2 separate regions of the Homo sapiens genome follow, and region 1 is linked to region 2. Evidence: promoter capture Hi-C in human tissues and cell types (Jung and others, 2019). All regions are on one chromosome and are shown on one strand. Each heading gives the region's core, a stretch centred on a gene start or on the middle of the fragment in contact. The rest is flanking DNA. Distances are from core to core; before and after follow the strand shown. Region 1 overlaps LOC107986854 (a long non-coding RNA gene). Region 2 holds the start of SLC37A3 (solute carrier family 37 member 3).

Region 1 (6,905 bases), core at 408-2,907, 150 kb after region 2:
TAAATGATTATTGGCAATCCTAGCAAAATATATCTAGTATGTTACCCTGAACAATATCGGGCTTTGATGAGGTTACAAGTCCATCTCTAAACTAATCACTGCAGCCAGGCCAGAGGCTGTACCTGAGCTCTTGAACCAGGGGTAGATTCAGTTCCACTGAAAGCACACAGACTGAGGAGATTATTTGCAGATACCATTACCAGGAGAAGGGGGAGCAGGTGCTAGGTGGTAGAAAACGTAGCCACCTGCTAGCATGGTCTTCCTCCACAGTCAGTCAGCTCTTGGGCAGCAGTGACTCTTCTCATATCTGCATTCCAGGGCCTTGAAGAACAGCAGGACTTCAAATAAATATTTACTGAGTTGTTTTTGAATTTTTAACATGATTCAGTCTCCAAGGGCTTCATTCATGGTAAATCTGCAATCCGGCGTCTGATCCAGGGTGAGCCTTCCCCACGGAGGCACTGTCCTTTGTAAGGCCCTTCTAGGTAGACCAGCTGGCCATCTGTTATGTAACCATCCATTCTTCAAAACTTCCATAAAAGAGAAGCAAGAAAGAAGGGTTTGGATCATGTTAGGGTCAAAGAAGGGCAGGAGAGAAATACAAGTGGTAGATGAAACTGAGCATCAAAGAAATACATCCCCACCTTTCCCCTTTGTTCTAACACACACACAAATCTCATTATCTGCAGGGTTGGACTATTGTTACCCTCACATACCCTGGAGTCCTGGTGGAGAATACAGGATTCTGGGTTTAGGCATGTGTCATTCGGTGGTTTAGGCCTGAAATATTGTGCCTTAAACACCCACAGAGGGGCCTTATATCCCAAACACCAGAAGAGCCAATGCCCAGAGGGTGAAATCAGACAGCCCTTAAGCTAGATGAAGCTGGAATTGGTAACCACACTATGGAGTTTAATTTGCTGACCTAGATGTAGTCTGCAGCCCACAAAACCTCATACCACAGCAAAGCTTTTTCTTGTGCTGAGACAGCTGGCTGAGCATGATGTTGCAATGACTCAGTTCTCAGTAAAGGGTCTGAGGAAATTAGGGGCAGGGCTACAGCCCCAAGACCACAGCTCCAAGAGACCTTCCTGTTTATTCATGGGTGAGAGAAGGGGAACCTTCTGTTTGTGGGCACTGGTATTTCATCAGAAGAGACAAGGCTGGACTCTGGGTTTGAGCTGTGTGTACACAGTCAACACATGACAGTCAGACAATTATACTCAGAGTGAGAATTCATATCTAGCCACATAGGCCAAAAGCATCTCTAAAAGCTGTTCTTAGGCCAGGCGTGGTGGCTCACACCTGTAATCACAGCACTTTGGGAGGCCAAGGCAGGTGGATCACAAGGTCAGGAGTTCGAGACCAGCCTGGCCAACATGGTGAAACCCCGTCTCTACTAAAAATACAAAAATTAGCTGTGCATGATGGTGCACGCCTGATGTCCCAGCTACTCAGGAGGCTGAGGCAAGAGAATCGCTTGAACCCAGGAGGCAGAGGTTGCAGTGAGCCGAGATCACACCACTGCACTCCAGCCTGAGTGAAAGAGCCAGACTCCATCTCAAAAAATAAATACATAAATAAATAAAAGCTGTTCTTAAAACTATGTGAATCAAATCACATTTTTACTTGACTTCCATTTTAAAACTGGACATAGGTTTATATGAGGAGGCCTAGTTCAATAAAACGAGAGTTGAAAACTCTGTGGGCTCGGAGGACTTCCCATTAAACATAGCCGGTTGAACATGTGCATACTCCTGGGCCTCCTCCCAAAACCCCACTAAAATGTGAGGCAAGAGACTTTTTTTGAAAAGCATAAGTCCATAAGAGAGGTAAGAGCAAAGAGAAGGATCAAAAAGATTTTTAAGCTGGAAATTTGAGAGATAATGAACCTCACACACCAGAGTAAAGGGTCTCAAAATGGGGAAGCCAAGAAAACAAGCCAATCCATGCCTCTGAAACACCCCAAAGGCTTAGGAATTGGAGGTACCAGATACTTCTGAAAAGGCATGGCTGCGGCTGAAAACTAGAGCACTGATTAAAAGTTTTCTTCCAACCTGGGCAACATAGTAAGACCCCATCTCTACAAAAAACACAAAAATTAGCCAGGGGCTGGTGATGCACACCTGTGGTCCCAGCTACTCAGTAGGCTGAGGCAGGAGGATCACTTGAGCCCAGGAGGTTGAGGCTGCAGTGAGTCATGCTCGGTCCACTGCACTCCAGCCTAGGCAACAGGGCAAGAAAAAAATAAAAATAAAAAGTTTTCTTAAGCAATAGTTAAGGCTGGGCACGGTGGCCCACGCCTGTAATCCCAGCACTTTGGGAGGCCAAGGCGGGCAGATCACTTGAGGTCAGGAGTTTGAGACCAGCCTTGCCAACATGGTGAAACCCCCTCTCTACTAAAAATACAAAAATTAGCCAGGCATGGTGGTGCATGCCTGTATTCCCAGCTACTCAGGAGGCTGAGGCAGGAGAATCATTTGAACCTGGGAGGCAGAGGTTGCAGTAAGCTAAGACGGTGCCACTGCACTCCAGCCTGGGCCACAGAGCGAGACTCCATCTCAAAAAAAAATGAGAGTTAATCCCTGCAGTTCTTCCCTTAGCCTATGCAACAAGCTACTACTTTCTCTCAGCCTTCATCAGAGACGGACCACTTATTGTATGGGGAGTTTGAGTTAGAGGAACTTTGGACTTAGGAACAACTGAAGGTGGAAGATGAGTATCAAAGAAGGGGGATGAAATGAAAGTCAATGTACCAACCCGTGCTGTCCTCATATTTGACTCCTAGACACTGGCAGACACATTTATAACTATGGGGAGGGAGTTCAGAGAACTCCCATAGGAAACTGACCACCAAAAGAAGAGACATGGAAATGTATCATAGGGGATTCCCCCAAGAATGACTGGCCCCTGTCTGATCACCCCATTCTAAAATCACTCCATCATACATGCAAATCTTTCTTTGTTTTGCTTTGTTTTGTTCTGTTTTGTTTTGAGATGGAGTCTTCCTCTGTCACCCAGGCTGGAGTGCAGTGGTACAATCTTGGCTCACTGCAACCTCCGCCTCCCGGGTTCAAGGGATTTTCCTCCCTCAGCCTCCCGAGTAGCTGGAATTACAAGTATGTGCCACCACGCCCAGCTAATTTTTATATTTTTAGTAGAGACAGGATTTTGCCAGTCGGCCCTGCTGGTCTCGAACTCCTGACCTTAGGTGATCCACCAGCCTCAGCCTCCCAAAATGCTGGGATTACAGGCGTGAGCCACCGCACCCAGCCAATATTGTTTCTTAAAACTGAATATTCAGTGAATAAAAGCATTCATGGAAGGTTGAGCTGTGATAGTAGAAACTAAAAATTCAAGACGTCAGGTGTGGTGGCTCATGCCTGTAATCCCAACACTTTGGAAGGCTGAGGCAGGAGGATCTCTTGAGCCTAGGAATTCGAGACCAGCTTGGGCAACATAGCGAGACCCTGTCACTACAAAAAATAAAAAATTTGTCAGGCATGGTGGCACATGCCTGTTGTCCCACCTACTTGGGAGGCCAAGGTAGGAGGATCGCTTTAGCCTAGAAGTTTAAGGCTGCAGTGAGCTATGATCAAACCACCGCACTCCAGCTTGGGTGACAGAGTGAGACCCTGTCTCAAAAGAAAAGAAGAAAAAAGAAAAGTCAGAAGGTAAAGTTGAAAAAAAAATCACAGAAAGTAGGAAAAAAGGGTCAGAAAATAGGAGAAAGACAGTTAGAAAATCAGAGACCTTCTACATCAATTTAGGAAGTCTGACATTTGAGTAATTGGAGTTCCATAAAGAGAGAATACAGAAAATGGAAAGGAGGAAATAATGTTTTAAAAAATAACAGTAATTCAAGAAAAAAAATTCTAAAATGGAAGACCATATGTTTCTAGATTGAAAGGGCCTACCCGAGTATCCAAGGCAATGAATGGAAAAAAAATCCCCTACCAAGGCACAACATTGTGAAATTTCAGAACAACTATGAATAAGATCTAAAAAGCTTCCAGGATAAAAAAAAAAATAGCAGGTTATGTACTACAGATCAGAAATGGCAATAGCTTTGCTCTTCTCAAGCACAACGCTAGAAGCTGGAATATGATGAATTCAAAGCTAACATGCAAGTGTGAATGAAGAATAGAGACACTTTCAGAAATGTAAGCTTTCAAAATTTTAACCTCCCAAGCAGCCTTTCTTCTTTTATTTTATTTTTTATTTGAGATGGAGTCTCGCTCTGTCTCCCAGGCTGGAGTGCAGTGGTGCAATCTCTGCTCACTGCAACCTCCACCTCCCGGGTTCAAGCAATTCTTGTGCTTCAGCCTCCCAAGTAGCTGGGATAACAGGTGTGCACCACCACACCCAGCTAAGTTTTGTATTTTTAGTACAGACAGTGTTTTGACATGTTGGACAGGCTGGTCTTGAACTCTTGGCCTCAAGTGATCCACCCACCTCAGCCTCCCAAAGTGCTGGGATTACAGGTGGGAGCCACCACACCCAGCCCAAGCAGCCTTTCTTAGGAAACTGTAGGATGATATATTCCATGAAAATGAAGGAATAAATAAAGAGGAAGCCTTGAAGCCCAGGAAATGGGAAGAGAGCAGAGTTGGGAGCAGGAGGATAGGGATGGAGGACTTGAGGATGCCTCCTAGAAAAACACATGAAACCAGGACAACCTGCTATGTCTAAATACAGTGAGCAAAGATTCACATTTCCAGTAGAGTCTGGAGAAGAATTAGCAATAGGTACATAGACAGTTGAACAAATAGAAAATAAGGCAATATTTATCTTCAGGGAAAACAAGAAAAAGTTTGTACCAGATAGGAAATATAATCATGTTACACTCCGCAGCTCAGCTGTGAATAATGGCTGCATTGTCAGAATAAACACTGGCTACTGATTAAACCAGAAATTGCAACACAAGCAAATTAGGAGGATGGGGAAGAGAAGATATATGATAGCTAAATCCTTGTTTCCCAAAGAAGGAAGACAACAGATAATAAATGCAACGGAGAAAACTGGAGAAGCTGGTGAAAGCTAAAAAGAGGCTGCTTCTGAAAATCAAGGGGGGGAATAGTGGGGAAGGAATTGCTTGCTTTAAGATTTTAAAGATTATTTTACTTTTCAAATAATGCAAATGTGTTATCTGATAAAAACAGTAACTAAAGAAAGATCATTATTGAGTTATGGAAGAAGTTAAACTAGTAGTGGCTATTATTTGTTGAGTACTTACAATATGCCAGAAACCACGGTAGGCATTTTACTTATAGTATCTTATTTATTTATTTATTTGAGACAGGGTCTTGCTTTGTCACCCAGACTGGAGTGCAGTGGCACAATCATGGCTCACTGCAGCCTCAACCTCCTGGGCTTAAGCAATCTTCCCACCCCAGCCTCCCGAGTAGCTGGGACTACATACATGAACCACCATACTGACTAATTTCTTAATTTTTTGTAGAGATGGGGTTTTGCCTTGTTGGCCAGGCTGGTCTCGAACTTCTGGCCTCAAGTGATCTGTCCACCTCAGCCTCTCAAAGTTCTGGGATTACAGGTGTGAGCCACTGTGCCAGGCCTCTAATTTGGTCTCTAAAAAAACGAGTAAATAAAAACATGATGCCCCATCAGACACTGCAGAGCAGCGATTCCCACCTTTTTCTGCACTTTTGAATGAAGGACAATGATCATGTAAGCCCCTTACTCCCACCTGGGAGTCCAGGGTTACACATAATTCCTCACTGTAAACTCATCCTTTTCTCTCCTACACAAGTAAGAATATCTAAATAAGTTAAAGTGACATTATTTTTGGAATAATCTAAAATCTTCTCAAATATAATTTTTTAAAAGTAGATCGGCCAGGCGCAGTGGCTCACACCTGTGATCCCAACACATTAAGAGGCCAAGGTGGACAGATCACCTGAGGTCAGGAGTTTGAGACCATCCTGGCCAACATGGTGAAACCCCATCTCTACTAAAATACAAAAAAAAATTAACTGGGTGTGGTGGCGCAACACCTGTAATCGCAGATAGTCAGGAGGCTGAGGCATGAGAATCACTTGAACCCAGGAGACAGAGGCTGCAGTGAGCCAAGATCGCACCACTGCACTCCAGCCTGGGTGACAGAGCGAGACTCAGTCTCAAAAAATAAAATAAAATAAAATAAATAAAAGTAGATATTACAAATCCCAGGATCTTAACTACTGTTAGTAACCAAGTCCCTGTGGCTCACAACCATTGGAGGAAATGCAGCCACAGAGGGCCTTGGAGACGTGTCTGCGGCTCCACACTGAGTTGATGGCAGAGCCCAGAGCCCTTGCCTTTTATAGTATGTGTTAACAGAACAGCTGGCTAGGATGTACTTCTACAGATGGTGGCGAGTGCATGAGGCTTGACCATCTGAGCAAGCTTGTCAGGAGGCCAGAGCTCTTTCTTTCCCTGTCTGGGCCACTCTTTACAAATGTACCAAAAAAGCTTTTATTGTCAGAGAAAAATGATTCCATTTAGATCTAGATATCCTGTGGAGTCCATTCCTTCAGTAAACTTTTTTTTTTTTTTTTTTTTTTTTGAGATGCAGTCTTGGTGGCTCACGCCTGTAACCCCAGCACACTGGGAGGCCAAGGTGGGTAGATCACGAGGTCAGGAGTTTGAAACCAGCCTGACCAACATGGTGAAACCCTGTCTCTACTAAAAATACAAAAATTAGCCAGGTATGGTGGCACATACCTGTAATCCCAGCTATTTAGGAGGCTGAGGCAGGAGAGTTGCTTCAAGCTGGGAGGTGGAGGTTGCAGTGAGCCGAGATCGCGCCACTGCACCCTAGCCTGGGTGACAGAGTGAGGCTCCGTCTCAAAAACAAACAAACAAAAAAACATATTCTTGGGCCCTGCCCCAGACATATGGAAACA
Region 2 (7,092 bases), core at 4,593-7,092:
TCCCCCCACCCTCAGGAGTCCTCAGGGTTTCCACTAAAGCCCCCTTTCATTGAGCCTACAAGCCTTGCTGGGAGGCACAGGCAGCGTCCACCCCGATGATGTCCTCCCGCCGGCATCCCGCAGCCTTCGCCTTCCTGGTTCACCTGTCGCTTACCTGTCTCGCTCTCTCACCTCTGCTGGTCAGCAGGTAATGTTTTCGCTTTCTTCTGGGTTTGCTTTTCAGCCCCCCAGTGCCCCCTTCTTCCTCCTGCCTCGCTGCTTGGTGGGAAGTGTAGTTCTGGCCCCAGGTGTCGGGTTTGGCGTCCTGAGAAAGTGAAAGGAAAGTGCAATCCCTCCCACCTGCCCTGAGTCCGGAGCTGCCTCAGGGTACAAAGCGCCAGGTGAGGGCGGCCAGCACAGGGCAGGGCGCAGAGCCGGCTTTCTCACCAGCCTTCGCCGGCCTAGCGGAAAGCCCTCACAGGAAGGAACAGCCAGTGAATTAAACCAGTGCTGGCCCATACGACACTGCCCCTGCTCCTTTCTTCTACTTTACCTTGTCTTGTGGGCTTTTGCGTCCTTTGCTCTCAATTTGTCCTGGTGTCCCTTGTTAGGAAACAATTTCAGAATGTATCTCATGTAGTAACAGCGACTGTTTTGCAAAATGTTTGGGTCAGTTGTACATGTGCATATTGTACTGGGTGATGTAAAAAAAAAATTTTTTTTTTTTTTTTGGAGACAAGGTCTCACTCTGTCACCCAGGCTGAAGTGCAGTGGCACCATTCATGGCTCACTGCAGCCTCAACCTCCCGGGCTCAAGCAATCCACCTGCCTCAGCCTCCTGAATATCTGGGACTACAGCTGGCCTGAGGGTTGTTAGTTGAGATAACACCAACTAAAGGAGGATATAGATCTTAAGTAATTTATTTTATTATATATACATATTTTTTAGAGACAGGGTCTTGCTCTATGGCTCAGGCTGGAGTGCAGAGGCATAATTATGGCTCACTGCAGCCACAACATCCCAGGCTCAAGGAAGCCTCCCACTTCAGCCTCCCAAGTAGCTGGGACTACAGTCATACACCACCATGCCCCACTATTTATTGTTTTTAGAGCTGGGATCTCCCTATGTTGCCCATGGTGGTTTGACACTCCTGGGTTTGGCCAGGCATGGTGGCTCATGCCTGTGATCCCAGCACTTTGGGAGGCTGAGGTGGGCAGATCACCTGAGGTCAGGAGTTCGAGACCAGCCTGGCCAACATGGCAAAACCCCATCTCTACTAAAAATACAAAAATTACCCGGGTCTGGTGGTGAGCCTATAATCCCAGCTACTCTGGCAGGAGAATCGCTTGAGCCTGCGAGGTGGAGGTTGCAGTGAGCCAAGGTCGCGCCACTGCACTCCAGCCTGGGTGACAGAGTGAGACTCCGTCTCAAAAAAAAAAAGAAAAAAAGAGAAGAAACTCCTGGGCTCAAGTGATCCTCCTGCCTTGGCTTCCCGAAGTGCTGGGATTACAAGGCATGAAACCACCGTACCTGGCCAGATTGTAAGTAATTTAAGTCTTTGTTTTGTAGATCTGAATATCTCTTTGTGAGGAGTCAGAGAAAGGAGATGATGCAAAGAGAAGGAAGCAAAAACAAAACTAAAAGAACTTTGAAGGTATATGAGAAGAAAAAGCTGAAAAGAAAATGTCTGCCTCACTCCCTCAAAAATTCTACCATAGAGCAAAGGTTGACGTCCAGAAAACCTCAAGTTTATCAGTCCCAGATGCTGGCAGTAGAAGCATAAAGCTGAGGTGAATTTTCCTTACTATTTTTTCCCCAGAGTCTAGAACAGTAACTGCCTCCCAATGTCTATCACAGGGACCAGATTTTCTCCACTACATAGGATGTGATATGTAGGCAGTTAAATGGCATTATAGACACAATAAGCAAAATTGAAACAGAGACACCCTGTTGGATAAAATATTTACATCGGTGTCCTGTTTCCAAACTGTGGGCTGAGACCTATAAATGAGTCATGAAATCAACCTTTGTGGGTTGCAACCAGCATTTTCACAAGAAGGGATTAAGAAACAACTTCAGAATGTATCTTGTGTAGTAACAGTGACTACTGTTTTGCAAAATGTTTGGGTCAGTTGTACACATGCATATTTTACAGGGTGATGTAAAAAAAAAATGTTTTTTTTGAGACAGGGTCTCACTTTGTCTCCCAGGCTGAAGTGCAGTGGCACCGTCATGGCTCACTGCGGCCTCAACCTCCTGGGCTCAAGCAATCTTCCTGCCTTAGCCTCCTGTATATCTGGGACTACAGGTGTGCACCATCATGCCCAGCTATTTATTTCATTTTTTTGTAGAGCCAGGGCCTCACTTTGTTACCCAGACTGGTCTCGAACTCCTGGGATCAAGCAATCCTCCCACATCAGCCTCCCAAGGTGCTGGGATAACAGGCGTGGGCCACCGTGCCTGGCCTGAAATGTCTTTTTAACTGTAGGCTGGGGTCCGCAACGTTTGAGAAGCACTGAAATACAGGGCAATTTATTCACTGTCCAAGAACATTACTTCTATGATGTCTTCAGATAAATTTGAAAATATTTGTCTTACCCAAAATTCCAGTTACATATCCATTTTCAGGATACTCTCTTCTGAGTGAGATAAACTCAACACTGGCAGGTATAGCAAGAAAACAAAAGACTCTGCCAAATATTGCTGCAGGGTGAGAACCACCAGCACAATGTGGAAATCCAGTGTAGGTAAAGATTCGCCCCAAATGTGTGATCAGGAAATAAAACCTGTTAGGTGTCAGTGTCATGAAGTTCAGTGTCCAAATGTTGTCTTTCTTCTGGTAATGGTTACTTTTTTTTTTTTTTTCCTGAGATAAGGTTTAGCTTTTGTCACTCAGGCTCGAGTGCAATGGTGCGATCTTGGCTCACTGCAACCTCCACCTCCCGGGTTCAAGCGATTCTCCTGCCTCAGCCTCCCGAGTAGTTGGGATTACAGGCACCCGCCACCACGTCCAGCTAATTTTTGTATTTTTAGTAGAGATGGGGTTTCACTATGTTGGCCAGGCTGGTCTGGAACTCCTGACCTCAGGTGATCCACTTGCCTCGGCCTTCCAAAGTGCTGGGATTATAGGGGTGAGCCACCGCACCTGGGGTGGTTACTGTTTAAAAAAAAAGTCACCTGACTCAGACCCACTGAGCACTTGGAGAACATCTACAGGTAGAAAACAAATGTTACAAATATTTAAATATCCTGATGGTTTTGGAAGTCAAGGGGAGAGAGATCTTACCTCTGTCTACCACCCAACCCTCTCCACCAAGGTCACTATAAATACAAAGAGCATAGCTTGGGCTACAGGAAAGAAGGCATTCATATGTATAAATGTGTGTGTATATATACACTGTTTTTTCTTTTTTAAGAGACTGGGTCTCCCTCTGTCACCCAGGCTGGAGCACAGTGGTACGATCATAGCTCACTGCAGCCTCCAAAGGTGCGGCTGAAGTGATCCTCCTACCTCAACCTCCCTAGTAGCTGGGATTAAAGATACACACCACCACATGGCTAAGAAGGCATTCTAGCCCTGAGTGGTGGTGACACAGGTTATATACTTGAAGTATACACACACACATATATATGTATACACCCATATGTAAATATAACACAAAAAACTATGTATTTCACTCTATGTATATATATTTACCATTTTAACCGTTTTTAAGTGTACAATTCAATGGCATTAAATACATTGTTGTGCAACCAACATCACCATCCATCTCCAGGACTTTTTTGGCATCCCAAACGGAAACTCCATAGCCATTAAACAACAATTTCTCATTTCCCCTTCCCTCCAGCCATGGGCAACCACCATGCTACTTTCTGACTCTATGAATTTCACTACTCTGGCTACCTCATATAAGTGGAACTGTACTGTACTGGTCCTTTTATGTCTGACTTATTTCACTTAGCATAATGTTTTTGAAGGTTCGTCTATGTTGTAGTATGTGTCAGAATTTGCTACCTTTTTTAGGCTGAAAAATAAACGATTCACAATATATTTTTAAAAATAAAAGTAACATATTTGGCTCATTTATTTTTGCTCACCCTGACATCATATTTCTCCTTGGATGCCTAGAGACAAAACTACCACTGTATAAGGGCTAGAAACAAAACTACCACTGTATAAGGGCAAATAAAAATGAAAAATAACAGGCTTAATTCCTCTGCTGAAAATAAAGAGACTTCTCAGCCTTCTCTCTGTTCCTTCAAAATTTCTTTCTCTGTCCTTTTCGAATGTACACAAATCTTTATAACGGCGAAATGAGCCTCTTGCCAGTATCACAACTCAGAAATGTATCCTCAAGGACTTGGGGGTCATCTTTTTGAAATTCAGACGTGAGTTAGTGCCTGTATCTTCCAGTTCCTACATGAGGGTAAGAGACTAAATTAGTGGGTATGGGCGCCTTGCTCCAATTTGTAAAACTACCTCCTGCTATAAAGATATGCGAACTTTGGCCGGCTGCGGTGGCTCACACCTGTAATGCTAGAACTTTGGGAGGCCAAGGAGGGCAGATCACGAGGTCAGGAGATCGAGACCATCCTGGCTAACACGGTGAAACCCCGTCTCTACTAAAAATACAAAAAAATTAGCCAGGCGTGGTGGCGGGCGCCTGTAGTCCCAGCTATTCGGGAGGCTGAGGCAGGAGAATCCCTTGAACCCGGGAGGCGGAGCTTGCAGTGAGCTGAGATCACGCCACTGCACTCCAGCCTGGGTAACAGAGCAAGACTCCGTCTCAAAAACAAAAAACAAACAAACAAAAAGATATGCGAAGTTTAAAAAACGAACAACAACAACAAAAAGTTATGCGAAGTTTGTTTTGCTTCTGGATAAAGCCAACATGAGTGGTCTCCCCAATTACTACTATTAAGTAAGGAGGAACTATGTTTGACAAAAGGTGTTGTCAAGTTCTGTTATTTGAAGACTAGTGATTGTTTATCTTGAGAACAGGTATGTAATGGTTGTTGTGGAGATTTTCTGGATTAAGAGAAGTTTTTTTTCTTTAAAATTCGAACAAGTGTCTGTATTTTTTCCCTTTATTTAAGAAACGGTGGCGGCGGTGGTGGTGGTGGATGGGGGGCGGCTCTCACTACCTTGCCCAGGCTGGTCTCAAACTCTTGTTCTCAAATGATGCTCCTACTTCGGCCTCCCAAAGTGTTAGGATTACAGGTGTGAGACACTTGTGTTGGATTTTTTTTTTTTGGAGGCAGGGTCTCGTTCTGTTGCCCAGGCTGGTGCAGTGGAGCAATCACAGCTGCCAGCCTCAAACTTTTGGGCTCAAGCGATCCTCGCACCTCGGTCGCCCCAGTAGCAGGGACCACAGGCACATGCCACTACTCCTGGCTAATTTTAACATTTTTTGTAGAGATGGGGTCTGGCTATGTTGCTAAGGCTGGTCTTGAACTACTGGGTTCAAGTGATCCTCCCTTCTCGACCTCCTAAAGTGTTGGATTACAGGCGTGAGCCCACTGTGCCCGGCCTGCATTTAATTAGACACCTAAAATTTAGGCCGGTCAGTAGCACACTTAGCAGCACGTTACTTTTTATAAAAACAAAGACCGAATACCGCTTTTTTGAAAAAAAAAAAAAAAAAAAAAAAAAAAGGATGCACCAGTTCTCCCCATATCATTTCTTCTCTCTACCTCTCGTCTTTTGCAGCTAACATTACTGGCCAGGTCCGCAGCAGCAGAGTTCTGTGGGCTCCCAGCCTCCGCCCTCCTCGCCCTCCTCCGCGCCGGCAGGTGAGGCCGCGTGGCGGGACTACAACTCCCAGCGTGCCCCGCGACGGGAGGGTCACGTGGGCGTCCGGAAACCCTGGTCGCACCGCCAGGGGTGAGCTGGCGGCGGGGGAGGCGGGCAGCGGAGCCAAGCTGACCCGGCGAGCGGAGCCGGGGCTGGAGAGCGGCGACCACTGCGGATCTCGGGTGCGCAAGCGGTGATGCGTGGGGCCGAAGACCTGCTGGGGCGGGGGCGGGTCCAATCCGAGGGGCTTCCCGGGTCGGGAGGGCGGTGGGGAGATGTAGGTGGCGGCCCCCCTTGGGTGGGGCGCCCAGGCAGGGTCGGCCGCTCGCCCCCTCCTTCTCCTCCCTGGGCCCGGGCCTGGGGTCCCGGCCGTCACGGGGAGGCTGCGATGGGGTGGATGGGGAGGAGAAGGACCCCCGGGGGACCCTGCGGCCCGGCCCCGATCCATGCGGCAGAGGCTTTTGTGCTCCTCGCCCGCCTGTCCTCCGGCCGTGGGTCTGGGAGATTCTGACTTGATCAGAAAAGGGCTTGTCGTTCGGACCAGGGGAGAGGGGATGCTTTTCAGGTAGGTGGGGAAGGAAGCTCTTTGGAAAGGATGTATAGAGGTCAGAGAAGAAGCGTGGTCTCAGTGAGTGACTGGTTTTGTTTTCTGGTAACTAGCATGAACTCAGTCAAGGAATTTGGTCAAATTATTCGTCATTCCCTCCTTATTCTTCGCAGGGTGTGTTCTGTTTATTCTCAGTTTTGACAGGAGATAATGGGAATGTGTCCCCGGAGTTTTTAGTGTTTTTTTGAAATGTAAGATGGTAGGCTATCTCGTGGTAACTCTTACTGAAAAGTTTATAGTTTATAGGGAGGAGTGGTTCCTGGGGTGAGCAAAATCATTCAGTTGTTATCTTTTTGTCCACCGGTTTATTTCTACCTTTACACAAATTTATACATACATAAATATATATAACAGTTGTTGAAGGGAATGTCTTCAGTGCTTTGGTGCTTAAATGATTTCTTTTCAGTTTGTTTGATGTTTCTTGGATACTAGGCTCTATACTAAGAACTCCATATAAATTATCTCATTTAATTAATACATGAGGAAATTGAGCTTCGGGTTGGGCGCGGTGTCTCATGCCTGTAATCCCAGCACTTTGGGAGGCCGAGGCCTGTGGATTCCTTGAGGTCAGGAGTTCAAGACCAGCCTGGCCAACATGGTGAAACCCCGTCTCTACTAAAAATACAAAGATTAGCTGGGCGTCGTGGCGCATGCCTGTAATCCCAGCTACTCGGGAGGCTGAGGCAGGAGAATCGCTTGAACCTGGGAGGC

What was found. The method cuts DNA at HindIII sites, captures the fragments that hold promoters and counts their contacts. A contact is called where the count stands out against the background at its distance.
Region 1: a fragment that was not itself captured here is called in contact with the fragment with the promoter of SLC37A3 in region 2 in 1 of the 25 tissues and cell types used here (neural progenitor cells).

The regions. Positions count from the first base shown.
Region 1 is chr7:140,247,181-140,254,085 of GRCh38, reverse strand. It overlaps LOC107986854 (a long non-coding RNA gene), which reads right to left. Exons shown (of 2, transcript XR_001745386.2): 2 at 1-530. Among named protein-coding and RNA genes, the nearest start is that of KDM7A-DT, 73 kb to the right of the region's middle. RefSeq lists enhancers at 1,153-1,222, 1,253-1,302. The HindIII fragment of the contact is 7,260 bases long and covers 1-5,287 here.
Region 2 is chr7:140,397,280-140,404,371 of GRCh38, reverse strand. It overlaps SLC37A3 (solute carrier family 37 member 3), which reads left to right and starts at 5,842. Exons shown (of 15, transcript NM_207113.3): 1 at 5,842-5,956. RAB19 (RAB19, member RAS oncogene family) reads right to left here and starts at 314. Exons shown (of 4, transcript NM_001008749.3): 1 at 155-314. LOC124901759 (a long non-coding RNA gene) reads left to right here. Exons shown (of 2, transcript XR_007060561.1): 1 at 1-187; 2 at 1,550-2,789. RefSeq lists enhancers at 1-239, 240-741 and silencers at 5,695-5,924, 6,035-6,304. The HindIII fragment of the contact is 36,664 bases long and covers 1-7,092 here.